6 separate regions of the Homo sapiens genome follow, and regions 1, 2, 3, 5 and 6 are each linked to region 4. The links are contacts of gene promoters, found by promoter capture Hi-C in blood cells and fetal thymus (Javierre and others, 2016). All regions are on one chromosome and are shown on one strand. The core of a region is centred on a gene start or on the middle of the fragment in contact, and the rest is flanking DNA. Distances in the headings are between cores, read along the strand shown.

Region 1 (2,700 bases), core at 59-2,558, 350 kb after region 4:
GGAATTAGAAGCCAGCAGTCATGACCTTGGGGAGGAAGGCAGGAGCAGTGACGGGGGAATAGGGGAGAGGCTTCTGAGTGCTTGGTAATATTCTGTCTTGACCTGGGTGGCGGTTACAAGGGTTAAGTTCACTTTGTGGTTATTCACCAAGGGATACACTAATGATTTCTGTCCTGTATGGTATGTACATTTCCTGTCAGGAAAAGGAAAAACAAGGGAGTATCAGTGTTTGGCAGGTAATTTTGAGAATAAGAATAAACCAGAGGGTGGGAGATTTCTAATCCAACACGCTGGATTGAACTTGTGAAGCTCTGCTACCCAGAAACCCCACAAAAATCATGTAAAGAAGTTGTATAAAGCATATATTTACACGAACAGAAAGAACAGAACAGGGACATTAGCAGACTACGGGTGTCAACAAAACTTCGGAAGCTAAAAAGTAACAAGAGCTACATAACTGACTGATTTGTTAGCCCGTAGGAAGAAGTTCAAATGCAAGCTTTGCTGGGGACAGGGGAGGGTAGGAGGGATACCAGCAAAAAGCAAGCTTATTGAAGCCACAGACGCCAAGAAGAGCTCGGGCTTTGGAGGCGCCACATACATCTGAAAGTGGAGGGATGGAGAGGGTGAAATAGTGGCTGGTCTCATGGCTCCTTGGGCAAATTCCCACCCACTCACCTGAGGTCTTCCCTCCAATCCAAGGCAGCCCAGGAAGCAGCCCCTCCCCCACCTCCGGCAAAGATTGAGAGGGATAATCTCAAGAGGTGTTTACATAGGCTGAGGACAGACGTGAGATGCACACAGAAAACAAAAAGTAAGAGGGCACCCTGACCAGCAACACTGTCAGTCCCCTCCCTTCCAGTCCCCGGTTGCAGGATAAACATAGCCAAGCTTATAGCCTCCAAGCAGGAAAATGAGTAATTTCCTTCCAGGGATACTAGCTGACTCAAGAGGAAAAGACTTATAGATACTGGTATTTAAAGATCTAATGATGGGCTCACGCCTGTAATCCCGGCACTTTCGGAGGCCAAGGCAGGCGGATCACCTGAGGTCAGGCGTTCGAGACCAGCCTGGCCAACATGGTGAAACTCTGGCTCTACTAAAAATACAAAAATTAGCCGGGCATGGTGGTGCACACCTGTAATCCCAGCTACTTGAGAGGCTGAGGCAGGAGAACTGCTTGAACCTGGGAGGCAGAGGCTTAAGTGAGCCAAAATCCCACCACCGCACTCTAGCCTGGGCGACAGAGTAGGACTCCATCTCAAAAAAAAAAAAAAAAAAGTAAAGAAAATAGCTGGACGTGGTGGTGCATACCTGTAGTCCCAACTACTTGGGAGGGTGAGGCAGAACAGCTGCTTGAGCCCAGGAATTTGAGGCTGCAGTGAGCTATGATCGCACCACTGCACCACAACCTGGGCAACAGGGCAAGACCCCATCAAGAGACAAAGAAAAGAAAGAAGTTAAAAACATAACAATGAATAGAAGAGTTTGAGATGGATATCTAAAAAGTACCAGAAAAAGAAAAGAAAAAGGTAAGATGTGAGTCAATCTAGGAGGACCAACATCCAACTAACCAATTTCAGGAGAGAACACAGAAAATAAAAGGCAAGAACTTCTCAGAGAAATGTTAAGAAAATTTTCCCAGAACTGAAGGGATGTAAGTTTCCAAATTAAAAGGCCTACTAAGTACCTAGCACTTCACCTCCCCAAAAATGGAAAGCTTCCAAAGAAAAGTACATTCATAGGTTAAGGAATCGGGTCACGTTGGAGATTTTAAGACAACAGGGCAAAGACTTTGCATTTCTGAGGGAAAATGATTTCTACCCCAGAACACCATACCCAGCCAAGTGTACAGGAAAAAAAATGGCATTTTTATGAATGCAAAACCTCATACAATTTCCCTCCCATTCATCTTCTCTCAGGAAGCTACTAGACGATAGAAAAACATATGGCATCTAGGAACTGGGCATCCAACGGGAGAACTGCAAAGGAAATTCCAGGCTAATGGCAAAGAGAAGTCCTAGGATACAAGTGTACTACAGACCTGAAGATCAACCTGCCCAGACTGGGGCAGAGAGCTGGATAACTCAAGTTGGATGACCACACTGGGGAAAAACTGATTCAGTAAACTACCTGTCATGAAAAATTGTACTAAACACATATTACAAAGAAGTTGGAAGGTGTGAGAAGACAAAAAGGCCAAAGAATAATAAGCAAGCGATATAGAGGTAACGATTAACTCCAAGAAAACAGATGTGAAGATTAACTCCAGGAAAACAAAAAGTTGTACAAAGACATATAATCAAGGCACAAGCCAGCAAAGAGCAAGGCAGCAGCAATGGCCTCTGAAAGGAACCAGGGTCTGAGGAAAGCTGAACCTAGAAGTCAGGATCTGGAAGAAGATTGAACACGACATGGTGATGAAAGCCAGCACCAGCCTGCCCAAGAAGCTGGTGCTGCTGAAGGCCCCAATCAAGAAGTGGGCGGCTGTCTCCTCCACCTCCAAGATGCCTTCCTAAGGATGCTGGCCCCAGCACAAGCCAACACTGTAGCCCCCACCTCCATGATTAGACCTTGCAGGTGGCCCCCCCGTCCCCAGCACTGGGTCACCTAGAACTTCGATAGGGGCCTGGCCTATGAGTAGGTGATCAGCAGATCCCCGGGTGCTGAGAACCCAGCTATGGCCATGAAGGTACAGTC
Region 2 (2,700 bases), core at 49-2,548, 310 kb after region 4:
GATGTGGTGATGTCATGTGAGATGAAGAGCCCAGGGAAGAAAGGGTTCTCCTCCAATATGCACAGCAATCTGACCTCTCCTGGACAACAGGTAAGTGGGAGGGAAAAGAAGGCATGGAATTCTGGAAAGAGAAGTTCACCATGGGAAGTTCTAGCTCTCAAAGAAGGGAAAAGAGGTCATGAGATGAGAATTAAGATGAAAAAGCTTCCAGGTCTTCAGAAGAGCTGCAAAAGTTCTGTGGAGACTCGAAACCAAAGCAAGAAACCAGGGAAGACAAAAGGAATCAGAGGAGTGCAGGAAGGGCCACACAAGAAATGGGGAGTGGAGACGCTGAGCAACTCAGCAGAAGGAACCAAGGAAACCAGAGGCAATACTCAAAGATCCAGCAAGACACGCCAGGCACTCCAAACGCACTTCAGCTGAGAAGCTGCGCAGCAGGAGCTGACCGCGGGGATGACAGAGCAAAGGAAACAGGAGTCCAAGATGCCAGGGAGGCCAGAATTACAGCAGAACATGCTGGAGTTCAGGGTATTCAGGAAGGAAAATAATAAACAGATAGCAAGCACTAGGAGCATGGAAAGGTGCCCTGAAATTCAAGATGATATGAGTTGAAAACAGGTGGAAAAGAAGTATCTTCTCTACGGCATTTTTCAACATGCCGTCTTCTGCTTTGGGAGCTGACATGAGAACCATGCAGCTTAAAGAGACCTCAAACCTTGTAAAATATGAAGACTTTCATATCTTCCAAAATTATCAAACATCCTTCAGAAAATAAGCCACATACGTTTGATAAATGATTTTCAGGGGAAAAAAAACCCATAAGAAGTAACTATTAGTAACAAAAACAGAGGAATACCTGAGGATTCATTTATCAAGAAATGTGCAAGAGCTATGTGAAATAATCTTTAAGTTTTTTTTAAAATCCTTTAAATTTCATGTGCTTCTGAGGTAATTTAAAAAGTTCTGAACAAATAGGAAAGCATCCCACATTCTGGACAGGGTGACTTAACATCTGAGGTATAAGTTCTCCCTAAATCAATCTACAAGTAGAAGTTGATTCTATTGTTCACATCCCAAAATCAATAAAGAAGAATATCCAGAAAATTCTAAAGAACAACAGGGGAACTGATCCCCTCATAAATACCATTAAGCTACAATAATTAAGAAGTATACTTGTAGCCGGGTGCAGTTGCTCACACCTGTAATCCCAGCACTTTGGGAGGCCAAGGAGGGAGGATTACTTAAGCCAGGAGCTTGAGACCAGCCCAGGCAACTTAGGGAGACCCTGTCTCTACAAAAAATGTAAAAATTAGCTGGGTGTGGTGGCACATGCCGGTAGTCCCAGGTACTCAGGAGCTGAGGTGGGAGGATCACTTGAGCCCTGAGACTGCAGGGAGGCATGGTTGCACCACTGCACTCCAACCTGGGGACAGAGCAAGACTCTGTCTAAAAAAGAAAAAAAAAAAACAAGGATGCTTCTAATAGATGAGCAGACAGATAGATTGATATAACAAAATAATAAATGAAACTACTGAAACTAGAGAACTATGAGAATGTAAGTAACTCAAGCCAATTAGTGCAGAAAAATTCTTCTGTAAACATTATTGGGGACAACCAAAAACAAAAATTAAATTAGACACATACTTCATATCTAACAAATTGCAGATGAACAGAAAATTTTAAAGTTAAAAAAAAAAATGAACTAAAAAACTAAAACATCCCTAGACAGAAAGGCTGGCTCTTGGGGGTATCTGGTGAACAGTTTCTTACGCTGACATAAACTTTCCCTAGCTGATAACAAGTGGCTCACCATGCCCAGACTATTTGAAACACATGGTTTATGCCGAACACCTGCTTTTCTTCTGTGAGTCTGGAATTGTGGCTCATGTTAGGCAGAGGGTACCTGCAGGACCAGCATGTTGCTGTATTTTTGTGTGAGCCTCACGGGAGGGAAGGAAGCCTGTACACGGATCCCTCCAGACTCCACCAGGGCCACTTCCCCCTATAACCTGGCTGCACATCCTAGCTCTGTCACTGTAATCAATCTTAGCTGTGAGTACAAACAATATGAAAATCCAAAACACCTGTATGATAGAAGCTATCATAAACAAAGCTGAAAGACAAACAAACTTGAAAAAACTAAATGTAACTCATATCTCAAAGGGCTTATACATCCTACAAATCATAAGAAAAACATCAACTATCCATTAGACGTAAGTATGTGTGCATATATATTTTTAAAAGATGCAGAGGCCCATACCTTGTAGTTAGCGTGTGTAGCTTTCAGGACATCATGCAGTTTGAGGTATGAAGGAAGATGATAGAAACTCCCCAGTGATGAGGATTTACTTGTTGTAACAGGACCTGAGGTATCAGATTGTCTAGAAGCTTTAAAAATATGCACACAAAAGATAAACTTTTAGATCAAAATAACTTGCCAAGTTTTAAAGAGATTACTGGAAATCATGATTTTTTAAAGTATTCTAGTATGAAAATATTCAAGTATTTCCTCTGACCTTTTGATTAACTAGAAGTAATGAGAAATTGACTAACAAACATAAGTAGAGCCTAAGTACTTTTTAAATAACAAAATAAGAAGAGCAGTGTGCACAGTTGTTTTGTTATGATTGCTTGTTTGCTTTGTGAGAAATCAGTTAGAGAATCATAGGAGCAGCTGATTCAAGGACCACTGGCCAATTC
Region 3 (2,700 bases), core at 181-2,680, 330 kb after region 4:
TGTGAAGAGAAGATCCAAATTCAGAAATGACTTCACTATAATAACCCTAAGTGATTAAAAAAAAAAAAGTTTCAGGATTTAAGAATTAGAGATTCATCATATTGCCAATATGTCCTCAATACCACAGACTTTCTGGATTATAATTCTAGGTTGTCAGATAATAAATCTGATTAAAATTCCAGATTCCACTTAAAAAAGATTAGAAAAAACCCTATTACACACTTACCTCATATAAATTCAAAAACACAAGTGTACCCTCTCACCCAAAGAAAAAGAGAGAACGAGAAGGCTCCATAGTAAGCATGGGCGCGATGGAGACTTGGGTCCACTGCTGCCTCAGCCAGTCCTGGTTCCCACTCACCCTGAGTGTGAATGCCTGGCCTGGCTGAGTGCGACTCAGCGCCACTGCGACCAGGCACAATTTGTGCTTTAGGTTTAAATCCGATGTGTATATATGTTGGCTCTTACGTGCTGAGGTTTCTACTTTTCTCCTCTATGGGTTTCATCTAAAGGGAACCCATGAAACAAAGAACTTCACTATTCATGTGTTTTCTGAAGAGCTACAACGCAGGTCAAATATCCCAAATGAACTCAAAACACTTACTGCTCTAAAACTAAAATAGTCAATACTGAAATAGTTTTTACAATAATGATTAAATCTGAGAAAATAAGATGTGAACTTTTAACATACCAGGGTATTCCGTGGTGTCAAGAGGAACTTTATAGAGTTTGCTGAAGAAAGATTCCGGGTGGAGGGCCACAGCTGCTCCCACACAGCTGAGGGCCAGGGCCTTCACGCTGACCCTCACATCCCTGTCCGGAACCAGCACTGCCAAGAAATCACCCAAGCCACCTTCAGCCTCAAACAACAGATTGTTTTCAAATGAACAAAACCAGACCCAATAACCTACCTGCTCCCATCATTTCCTCCCTCCCCTCGGCTAGTGAAAACCAAACTCATCCTCAGATTCTACTTCCTCTGCTGCACGCAAGGCAAAAACAGGCCACCAAGCTGACCTCTGAAACCTAGTTATTTCCTTCAACTGTGCACATCCCCTTTTGTACTCACCATTTTTTCCCCCTGTTAGCAAAAACGAAGCAGATAAAAGGCGGACACAATGGACAAGAGGTGCAGAGTCATCATCAGTGGACTGTCCAATGTCACCTTTGATGCGGCAAGGCTAGAAAGGAGACAATGACACTTGTTTGTCTCATACTCAACAATACATTCATGCATTAGTTCATTCAACAGATAGTTCCAGAGCAGCACTTAAGCCAGGTGCTGGGGATAAAGAGATGCCCTGGTTTGTGCCCATATGCACACCTGACCTCACAGAGACCATGGCCAAGCAGAAACAGACAAGTCAGAGGCAGCAGGACACAGGGTCACAGGGCTGTGGCAGGGGATAAATGCAGCATGCAGGGAGGGTGGGCGTGGTAAGAAGGCAGTTGACACTAGGCATTCAGGAACGGCTGCTGCAGAAGCAAAGCATGAAAGGTCTTCTACAGGACAAGCAGAAGCTACTTGGGGAAAGGCAACAGCCTGGGGAAGCCCAAATCTAAGAGGAAGTGGGCCTGGTAGATAGGGAGATGCCAAAGGCTATAATTCTGATTGATGGGACGAACTGTGAAACGCTATTCCTTGTCCTTGAGGAATTAAAAGTGAAGACAGTTACATTTACATGTAAAAAGATAATATGAAGAGAGACTTTTAGAACAGTTCAGTAGAACCAAAACAAGAAACGTTGCAGGCCATACGCAACCATCAAATGAATGATCCAAGAAATCAGACAAGGAAACATTCAGTACAGAATAGATTTGTCTGGGGCACACTCTCAAAGGAGGCAGAACTCAGGCAATTCTCAAGGCTGTGGGTAGTACCTGGAAAGGCAGAAAACAACAGGCCTGGGAAGAGCTGGTATTTAAAGGGGAAATTTAAAGGCCCAGGGATGGGAAAGCAATAAAGTAGACAGTAGCCAGGGCGATTTTAAATCCTCACACAAGCTCAGAAACACCAAGTCGTCTCAAGCCTATGTCCCTCACCTTGTTTTCTTGATCACCCGGTTCAGTAGCTTCATCTCTCAACACAAATTTATCAACACTGCTGTCAGAAGGCTGCCTGCAGTGACTCATGTTTTTCAATAAATGTGCCTGTTGAAGGGCTTTAAAAACAGAGAAATCAAGATTAAGTGACAAATTTCCACTTAAAATACAATTATACATTTATGCTAAGATAACTCAAAAGTATAAGATTTAGATCAAGAAAAAGTATGATTATTCCTCAATTGGTCATTTTCATCAGCTATTCAGAACTCAGAAAACAGTATCAAAGGACTTCTTCTTGGAAGCAAAGATATAATTAAGATGTCCAGGTCTGAATACAAACCACTTTGTAGCGCATCACCTGTAGTCCACATACCCATGGAAGAGTTCCTGAAGGCCTCCGAGGCTTCATCAGGAAGAATACCTGTGGCTTCCTCATCTTCATCCTGGGGCTGTCCAATCTGCAGGCCCAAATACTGGTTGTCGGTACCGTCTAACACCTAAACGGTTCAAGGGGGGCTGTGAGAATTTTGAAGTGTGATCACCAAGAGACAAGCCCTCCAACATGGAAGTGCAATGAGGAAAGAGCACATTTTACACACAGAACACAAATGTACTCATCTGTCATTTATTTCAAGGCACAGAAATGCACGCATG
Region 4 (2,700 bases), core at 3-2,502:
GACCCCATCCCTTCCTATACCAGGTCCCCTGCAGCCCCGGAGGACAAAGACGCCCTCCCAGGCTCTGTCGGTGCCCCCACAGCTCCAGGCAGGAGGTCTGGGCACGGAGGGCTGAGTGGAGAAGTGACCAGCGTGCAGTCCAGGCCCTGCAAGGGGAGGCGGAGGCAGGCAGGAAGTGCTTTCCTCCAGGACCACCTGAGGCCCTGCAGAGGGGACGCAGGAGGGATCCCTGCCCCACACCCTCCCTGGGAGTCACAGACACCCGTCCTGGAGGGTGCTCTGGCAGCCCCCTGGCGTACAGCCCCCCATGCACACAGGCCGAGCATCCCACCCAGACCCGGGCCTGGCCGGCTCTGCCGCACCTGTCCTCTGGAGCAGCTGCAGGCCCGGCTCAGCCCTCCCTACAGGCCCAGCGCTGCAGGCGGCCTGGGCTGCCAGACCTGGGGGCTCCATGCTGACCCTCCCCAAGCTGGGGTGCTGGCTCAGGGCGGGGACTGGGGGGGGACCCCTGCCTCCTCCCAGAGGACTGTTCCCCCAGCAATGTGGCAGTCACTCTGCCCTGCCCTACCGCAGCCCAGCCTCTCGTCTGCCTGGGAGGGGTCCAGGGTCAGCGCTAACCCACGCAGCACCCCTGGAGGCTGGGTTCGGGGGCCCTGCTCTGAGCGTTTCCACAAGCACAGCTCAACCCTCAGGTATGTGGGGCTTTGCTTCTGGGGGGCCCCTTGCTGCTCTGCTGGGGGGCTCAGGGCCTGCGTCCCCTCCGCCTACAGGGCCACCAGGCAGCCCCTCGGGCCTCAGTCTGCCCTGCTGGAAAGAGGGTTCTTCCGTCCAGGGCCCCCACCTGCGCTCCCAGGGGCGCCGGGGGGTCCGGGTCCGCACGGGGCTCTCGGGTTTCCCGGCGGGGTGACAGCGGCGGCGATTTTGGGCAAGCTGGCATTACTGCCCCGGGCCTCGGTAACCCGTGTCGCTACCCCCGCGCCCCCCGTCCCCCGCCCGCCCCGCTCACCTGCCACGGGCGACGGCTTCCGCAGCACCAGCCACCTACTCTTCCACTGCGGGGACAGGGGGGAGCGTGAGCCGCCGCCCGCGCCCGCGCCCCCCCCCCCCGCGCCCCCGACGCGCCCCGACCTTCTTGCCGTCCCGCAGCTTGACCTGGCCCTCCACCAGCGCCGCCTCGGTCATCTTCTGTCATGGTTCCGCGCCGCCGCGCTCGCCCCGGCGCCCCAGCCCAGGGTCACTTTCAAAATAGCTCGCAGGGCCCTGGGCTGGGCCAGGAGGGCGGGCCCGCGGGCAGGGCGGCGACACCGGCGACTCCAGGGCCGGCGCGGGCGGGGCTCCTTCTCCTGCGGGCGGCTCCCCCACCCCCACGGGCCCCTCTGGCCCCACCGTCCCGCGGCGGCCACTGGAGCCGCCCGCCCTCTGGAGCAAGCGCACCATCTGGGCTCAGACGCTCAGACCAGCGCCTGGCGGGGCGGGGGTCGGGCGGGGACTTCTTTTTCAAAAAGCAGAGACAACCACCTAGCAGACATCGGCCCCGCTCTGGGCACTGCTCCCAACTTTAAAGTTGGTCTTCAAACAATCCGGCTTCCCAGACTGGCATCTGCCCCTACCCCAGGGGTCACTAGACACCCGGACAACAGACTGGCCACAGGCAGCCCAGGCCTAGGATGCTCTCACATCCCCAGGCTTCCCCCACACTGAGGTGACCCCTCCCCAGGCAGGCAGTAGGGGTCGGGGAGCCCCTGGCAGCCTCTGTCTCTTCCTCCATTTCTGTTCCCATTAAAAGCCTGCAGGGACCCCAGTGCAGGTGGGCGGGTCCAGGACCCACAGTGCCGCCTCAGGGCCCCAGGTCTCCACCTCTTCTGCCCCCATCCCAGGCAAGAGCAGGCCCTGGTTAGGCCAGCCGGCTCCGATGGGCAGAGGAGCTGCCTGCTTTGTAAAGGACCTGCCAGCAGCCCTCCCAGCTGGGTGGACTTTGCGCTTCTGGACTCCCCCTCCTTGACCCTGTGGCTCCAGTCCAGCTGTCCCCAAGCTCTGGCCTGGGCATTAGATGTCACATCCAGGTTCTTCTGCAGAGAGGCCATGTGCTTTGGGGGACCTGGCAGGTCCGTGCCTTGGGTGTCAGCCCCATCCGAGAGACGGCCTCCACCACCCTGGGGTTGGGGACACCCAGCAGATACGGGAACAGCAGTGGGGAGGGGCGATGGCACCCTAGAAGATAAGCACCTGGACAAACAGCAAAGCTCCGTCCACATGCCCTACCCTAGACCCCATCCTCACGGGGCTGACGGTTCTCGGGGGAGAAGAAGGAAGGGGTAGACAGTGTCCCGTTAGGGAGGAGACGTCTTCATTTCATCCCATCCAGACCCTAGGCTGGGCTCTGTCTGCCTCGCACTGAGGAGCAAATGGAATCAGGGCAGCGTGAGGCCTCACAGCCAGGACTGAGCCACATCGGCTGACCTCAGAGCAGGGCTCAGAGGCATCGGGAGCCCTGGGCGCCCCTCCCCACTGCCCCTGTGATCCAAGAGACAGGTCTCCGGTGGGCCACAAGGGTTGGCTTTGGTGCTTCGGTGATGTCTTGTCAGGGCCTCATGCAAGGCGGGGGACACCAGGCCCAGGAAGCAGAATTTTGCATCCCCCACCCACCCCCGCAGTCACCTGTGCAGCCACCAGCCGCCTTCCGCAGAACAGTTGCTGGGT
Region 5 (2,700 bases), core at 46-2,545, 290 kb after region 4:
CATCACGACACCGAAGACGACAGTGAAAGGTGTGTCCCGTTACCATGTGTCACAGCCTTCCTTCCACTGGCCATGATGCCATCACAGAGCTGAATGATTTTAGGAATTCCAATGATCTGTTTTGAATGATAGCGTTCATAAGATAGTAATACCAAGAAGAAAAAGATGTTTGGAATGATTGCCTCTGATTCCCTAAAAACAAAAACATCCATTTAGACCTTTCTTTTAAAATTAAGATACATATCAATATAAGCAACATAAAATAATTCATGATTCAACCTTGACAGCAAGCACACATCAAGCTAACAGGTGTCCGTGATCTACTCTAACCCCACCCCTGCCACAGTGCATCCCATCTGTGCCCTCGCGCAGAGCAGGGACATGTGTAAAGGTTCGGAGGCAGCAGGTAGAAGGCACCCGACGGCACAGGGGCACAGCAGCTACGATCTTCCTAGCTCTCCTCTGCCTCTTTGCTCTTGAAGAAATTGAAACTCAAAAGAGAAACAGTAACTTGCCCCAAAACACAGTGGAGGTGTCATGTAATTAGAATAAACACTATGTTTCCAGACCCCAGGGAATCTGGGAACACTTTCCTTCTGCACTAAATTTTCCTAATTACAATGTTTATTAAGCATTTTAGGTACTAAAAGAATTTTAACTTTTAATAATTATAAACCTGTAATGGACTAGCAAGAAGTATTAAAACCTCAACATCTAGCAAGAAAAAGCTGCAGAGAATACAAATGCATAATAATTACTAAAGACAACATTATATAAAACTGCTTTCTCTAAGAAGATTTAAAAACTAGTGCTCCACCACAAGATTTCATTCCACCATCTGTCAACACAATTAAATGCTTTGAAATGTGCAATGAATACTGACAACATATGGAATTTTCAGATACATAACTACTTCCAAACAAGTCTTGAGATATACATTAATTTTTAAGAGAAGCAAAAATGCACAGTATGTTAGTCAGATTTCCATTTAAAGAAAACAGCAAAAATGCCTAACAGTAGTTTAAACATTCACTTAATAACCTAAATTACATGTAAGTACACAAGAAGAAGAAAAAAATCTAAAATAATAAAATGCTATTACCTGAACTGGCCCACTTCAATGTATTCAAACTGTTTCAATACAAAGCCAATAAACACCTACAGGAAGGAAAATAAAATTTCACATCAATAATAGGATTAAAATGTAAAAACCAGGCTTCTTTTCCTCCTGCTTATCTGCATAAATTTTAAATAAAATTCTTGACAGCTGATAAATTTGACTATAAGCATAACTCTATTCTGAAATCAGCCTAGATAATTGCAGAACACATCCAGGAATCCCCTCAACAACTTTACTATACCCTGAGGTGAAATCTCATTGGAAAAACAAATAATAAATTCCAAGAGACATCAGACAATACCCAAAATTACACCTTGGGGACTCATCTGTTCACGTTAATGGCAGATAGGGTGGCACAGATTCCCTGAAACTGGTTTAGTAATAAGATACCCAAAGGAGTCGACCTTCGTCCCCCAACCATCTGAGAGGCGACACGTAAGGGCTGCATGGGAGCCAGTTTTGTGTCACACTGTATTCCCTGCAGCTGTCAGCTTTCCCAACCTGACGGGGAGCTTCCATGGATAAAGCATGGAGCATATGGCCTGGTTTTCTCAGAGCCTCTGGGCAGAATGCAAACATACAGCAGGAGCTCAATAAATCTTTATCAGCATAGAGTTCAATGGTTTGTCTGTTCTAGTGTTCTATTCTTGTTCATAAAACTGTCACTGTACTGAATCTTAAGAACTGGGAGAAAGGGGACCGGTTGATGAAAGGCAATCAGAACAAACATGAAACCAGAGCAGTCTTTGTTCTTACTAGAATGGAACAAATCAGGGCTCTGGCTTCCCTTGGGGTACCCGTGCCCCCCTGAGAGCCTGCTCCTCTCAGCCCCTGCTGCCCACAGCCATAGACCAGGGCTTCTCCCCAGTCAGCCTCCTAGTGTCAAAGGAAAGGAAAAGAAGTTCCCAATGACTATTTCCTGAGGAGAGCAATGGCCCATTTAGACGGATTTTCTTCGGACAGGTTTTGTGAAAGAAAGATGAAAGCATCAGGCCAACGCAAAGCCCACCCCTTGATGCCTCCTTCATTAAAAGCAGACCCCAGGCCGGGCGCGGTGGCTCACGCCTGTCATCCCAGCACTTTGGGAGGCCGAGGCGGGCAGATCACGAGGTCAGGAGATGGAGACCATCCTGGCTAACACAGTGAAACCTCGTCTCTACTAAAAATACAAAAAATTAGCCTGGCGTAGTGGTGGGTGCCTGTAGTCCCAGCTACTCGGGAGGCTGAGGCAGGAGAATGGCGTGAACCTCTGAGGCGGAGCTGGCAGTGAGCCGAGATCGCACCCCTGCACTCCAGCCTGGGTGACAGAGCGAGACTCCATCTCAAAAAAAAAACAAAAAAAAACAAACAACAACAACAAAAAAAACAAGCAGATACCACCCCAATACCCACTGTGGAAAATCAGTGTTGACCGAGTGCCCTCAGTTCTCCTAGGGAAACAGACCCTTTCAGGTGAGTAACAGTGCTGACAGGATTAACAGATTTACGTCTAGAAGGAAATAGAGAAGTGTAATATTTCTAACTCACAAATATTCCTACCCCACATAAGAAAGTAGCCCAAGATCACGGCTCAAAAATGA
Region 6 (2,700 bases), core at 100-2,599, 370 kb after region 4:
GAGGTTGCAGTGAGCCGAGATCGCACCATTGCACTCTGGCCCAGGCGGACAGTGCAAGACTCCATCTCAATAAACACATAAATAAATATATCTTAAATTTTCAATCCCCTTTTAGTGGTAGGCCATTAAGGTTATTTTTAATTTTCTAATGGGATGAAGGGCACTGCACCAATATCATTACACACTTTCCTAGGGGTAAGCACCCTAGAGGTAAAACTGCTAGGTCAGACATATAATAATCTAAAGCTTTATATTTTCCCAAATTGCCTTCTTAGAAGGTTGTATCACCTCTGACAAAAATCTGAATATTCTTAATGTTTGCCAATTTGACAGGTAAAAAAGGTTCTTATTTTTGTTTCAGTTTCAGTCTACTGATTACTAGTGTCCTAATCAGCTTGAGTTTCTATAACAAAATACCACATACAGACTGGGTGGTTTAAACAATAAGCACTTACTCGTCACAGTTCTGGAGGCTGGGAGTCGGAGAACAAGGTGCCGACAGGTCGACAGTGTTTTTCTTAACGATATTTATAACTGCTCTTTACACAGGCTAGTAACCTTTGATCTATATGCTGTCAATACTTTCCCCAAGTTCAATTTACTTTCAATTTTGTTGAAGGTGGATTTTGACATATTGAACTATATTCCACTCAAAACAGTTTTTTCCTTTATAATGTTAACCTTCCTCAAACTAAGATTACATTTTTTAAAGAAATTATTTCATTTTTTCACATTTAGGTAATTAATCTGAACTTTATGTTTGTTTGCAATATGAGGTAGAGATATAATGTTCTCCCAAAGTCAGAGAAATGTATCATTTCCCTCATTTCCCTAATACATATATGTTACACCCATCATAAATTCATACAGATACACACATACACTCTTCTTTCTGTTCTATACCTGTTTTAACATCCAATCACTATTTTAATGTCACATACATTAAGTCTCACCATATTAGTGTTGATTTCTTTTTCTTTTTTCTCTTTTTTCTTGAGACAGAATTTTGCTCTTGTCGCCCAGGCTGGAATGCAGTGGTGCGATCTAGGCTCACCGCAACCTGTACCTCCTGGGTTCAAGCAATTCTCCTGCCTCAGCCTCCCAAGTAGCTGGGACTACAGGCATGCACCACCACACCCAGCTAATTTTTGTATTTTTAGTAGAGGCAGTGTTTCACCGCACTGGTCCAGCTGGTCTCAAACTCTTGACCTCAGGTGATCTGCCTGCCTCAGCCTCCCAAAGTGCTGGGATTACAGGCATGGGCCACCACACCAGGCCTGGTGATGATTTTGAGATATTCTTTGCAATTATGTATTTATTCTTGCAGTGAACAAGTTCAAAAATACCTCTACTAGAATTTTGATCAAGATTATTTTAAATTTCTGTGTTAATTTAGAGAAAATTCAACTTAGTAATATAAAATCTTCCTATCTAGAAAGTGGTCACCTATATCTTTCAGAAACATTAACAGAAGTTTTTATAAAGTTTTTGCATATTTATCGATTCCTTAGAGTTCGATATATTGGTGCTACTGTGAACTAGATCTTTAAACGTTATATTTTCTAGCTGATTTATGCTAATATATGGGAGATCTATGGATTTTTGTATATTTATGTTTACCTAGCCACCTTATCAAGGTACATATTAGTAAGAGGTTGCTCAAGTAAGCATTCCTGGGTATTCCCAAGAGGATACTTGTGAAAAATGTGTAGTCCCTACCTACTCAAACAGAATGCAGAAGTATGTTTGGGAAAAAGGACAGTGAGGTGCCTTCATTACTGTATTTTTAACAAATTTTCCAGATGATTTTGATGCTCATCCATACTTAGGAACCAGTAACTTAGACCACTTTAGAGAGCTTAAAGCAGACTACATTTTCACAATATACATGAAGTTTTAAATGACTTCCTACATTGAAAACGTCAGAAGCTGCCATTTATATAACCTCATTAGAGACAAAAATTAGTCTAGCACAAAAGCTATAAAAAAGTTCCAAAAGTTTAATTATATTTTAGGAGAGTTAACAGGAAACAGCGATGAGCAATAAGTTTCCATAAAACATATTTACATAAAATATCACCTTCAGCTATATACTCTGAAATCCCTAAAAAGTATAGAGTGTATCCTATGAAACCAAGAATAACCTCTCTGACTCCAAAAACTCCTTTTAACATGCTCTTCTGTAGAACAAGCATAATGAACTCTCAGCATTACTCCATAAAAACAAGAGACAGACTAATGTGAAAACCATTAACAGCTATTATTTTGATTTAATATGGCATATAGAACCACAAATCAATCTTAAGATGTCTCAACATACTTTACTAATATATGAATATAAGCCAACATTCCATGAATTCCATTTGAAAATTATCAAAAGACAAAATGACAAGAATAAAGCCTGACGCACTCAGATTGAAAGAGATCTTATTTCCTGGGTCAATAAGCTTTCAGAGAGAAATTATGTTCTCTGAGACCTGGATGGTGGAGATCAGATGAACAATGACCAAATGTTTGCCAAGTATTTAAAGTCATTTCACAAAAAAAGTAAAGATGGCCAGGGGCAGTGGCTCACGCCTGTAATCCCAGCACTTTGGGAGGCCGAGGCGGGCGGATCACGAGGTCAGGAGATCAAGACCATCCTGGCTAACACGGTGAAACCCCATCTCTACTAAAAATACAAAAATTTAGCCAGGCATG

Evidence for each region. The method cuts DNA at HindIII sites, captures the fragments that hold promoters and counts their contacts. A CHiCAGO score of 5 or more calls a contact.
Region 1: a contact is called between a fragment that was not itself captured here and the fragment with the promoter of DOK7 in region 4, in 3 of 17 cell types (fetal thymus, non-activated CD4 T cells and naive CD8 T cells). The highest score is 6.6, in fetal thymus.
Region 2: a fragment that was not itself captured here is called in contact with the fragment with the promoter of DOK7 in region 4 in 2 of 17 cell types (endothelial precursors and naive CD8 T cells); the score reaches 6.5 in endothelial precursors.
Region 3: a contact is called between a fragment that was not itself captured here and the fragment with the promoter of DOK7 in region 4, in 5 of 17 cell types (total CD4 T cells, naive CD4 T cells, erythroblasts and 2 more). The highest score is 7.1, in total CD4 T cells.
Region 5: a contact is called between a fragment that was not itself captured here and the fragment with the promoter of DOK7 in region 4, in 1 of 17 cell types (endothelial precursors). The highest score is 7.0, in endothelial precursors.
Region 6: a contact is called between a fragment that was not itself captured here and the fragment with the promoter of DOK7 in region 4, in 1 of 17 cell types (endothelial precursors). The highest score is 5.5, in endothelial precursors.

The regions. Positions count from the first base shown.
Region 1 is chr4:3,109,775-3,112,474 of GRCh38, reverse strand. The region is part of intron 6 of HTT (huntingtin); the gene reads right to left. Among named protein-coding and RNA genes, the nearest start is that of HTT, 36 kb to the right of the region's middle. The HindIII fragment of the contact is 829 bases long and covers 894-1,722 here.
Region 2 is chr4:3,156,760-3,159,459 of GRCh38, reverse strand. It overlaps HTT (huntingtin), which reads right to left. Exons shown (of 67, transcript NM_001388492.1): 28 at 2,261-2,388. Among named protein-coding and RNA genes, the nearest start is that of HTT, 83 kb to the right of the region's middle. The HindIII fragment of the contact is 2,184 bases long and covers 207-2,390 here.
Region 3 is chr4:3,129,767-3,132,466 of GRCh38, reverse strand. It overlaps HTT (huntingtin), which reads right to left. Exons shown (of 67, transcript NM_001388492.1): 13 at 2,420-2,543; 14 at 2,044-2,162; 15 at 1,070-1,181; 16 at 692-829. Among named protein-coding and RNA genes, the nearest start is that of HTT, 56 kb to the right of the region's middle. The HindIII fragment of the contact is 2,912 bases long and covers 1-2,700 here.
Region 4 is chr4:3,461,858-3,464,557 of GRCh38, reverse strand. It overlaps DOK7 (docking protein 7), which reads right to left and starts at 1,252. Exons shown (of 7, transcript NM_173660.5): 1 at 1,129-1,252; 2 at 1,007-1,052. The coding sequence starts at 1,182. RefSeq lists an enhancer at 1,627-2,474. The HindIII fragment of the contact is 8,339 bases long and covers 1-2,700 here.
Region 5 is chr4:3,175,790-3,178,489 of GRCh38, reverse strand. It overlaps HTT (huntingtin), which reads right to left. Exons shown (of 67, transcript NM_001388492.1): 34 at 1,103-1,158; 35 at 44-192. Among named protein-coding and RNA genes, the nearest start is that of MSANTD1, 72 kb to the left of the region's middle. The HindIII fragment of the contact is 4,405 bases long and covers 1-2,700 here.
Region 6 is chr4:3,089,408-3,092,107 of GRCh38, reverse strand. All of the region lies in intron 2 of HTT (huntingtin), which reads right to left. Among named protein-coding and RNA genes, the nearest start is that of HTT, 16 kb to the right of the region's middle. The HindIII fragment of the contact is 2,201 bases long and covers 249-2,449 here.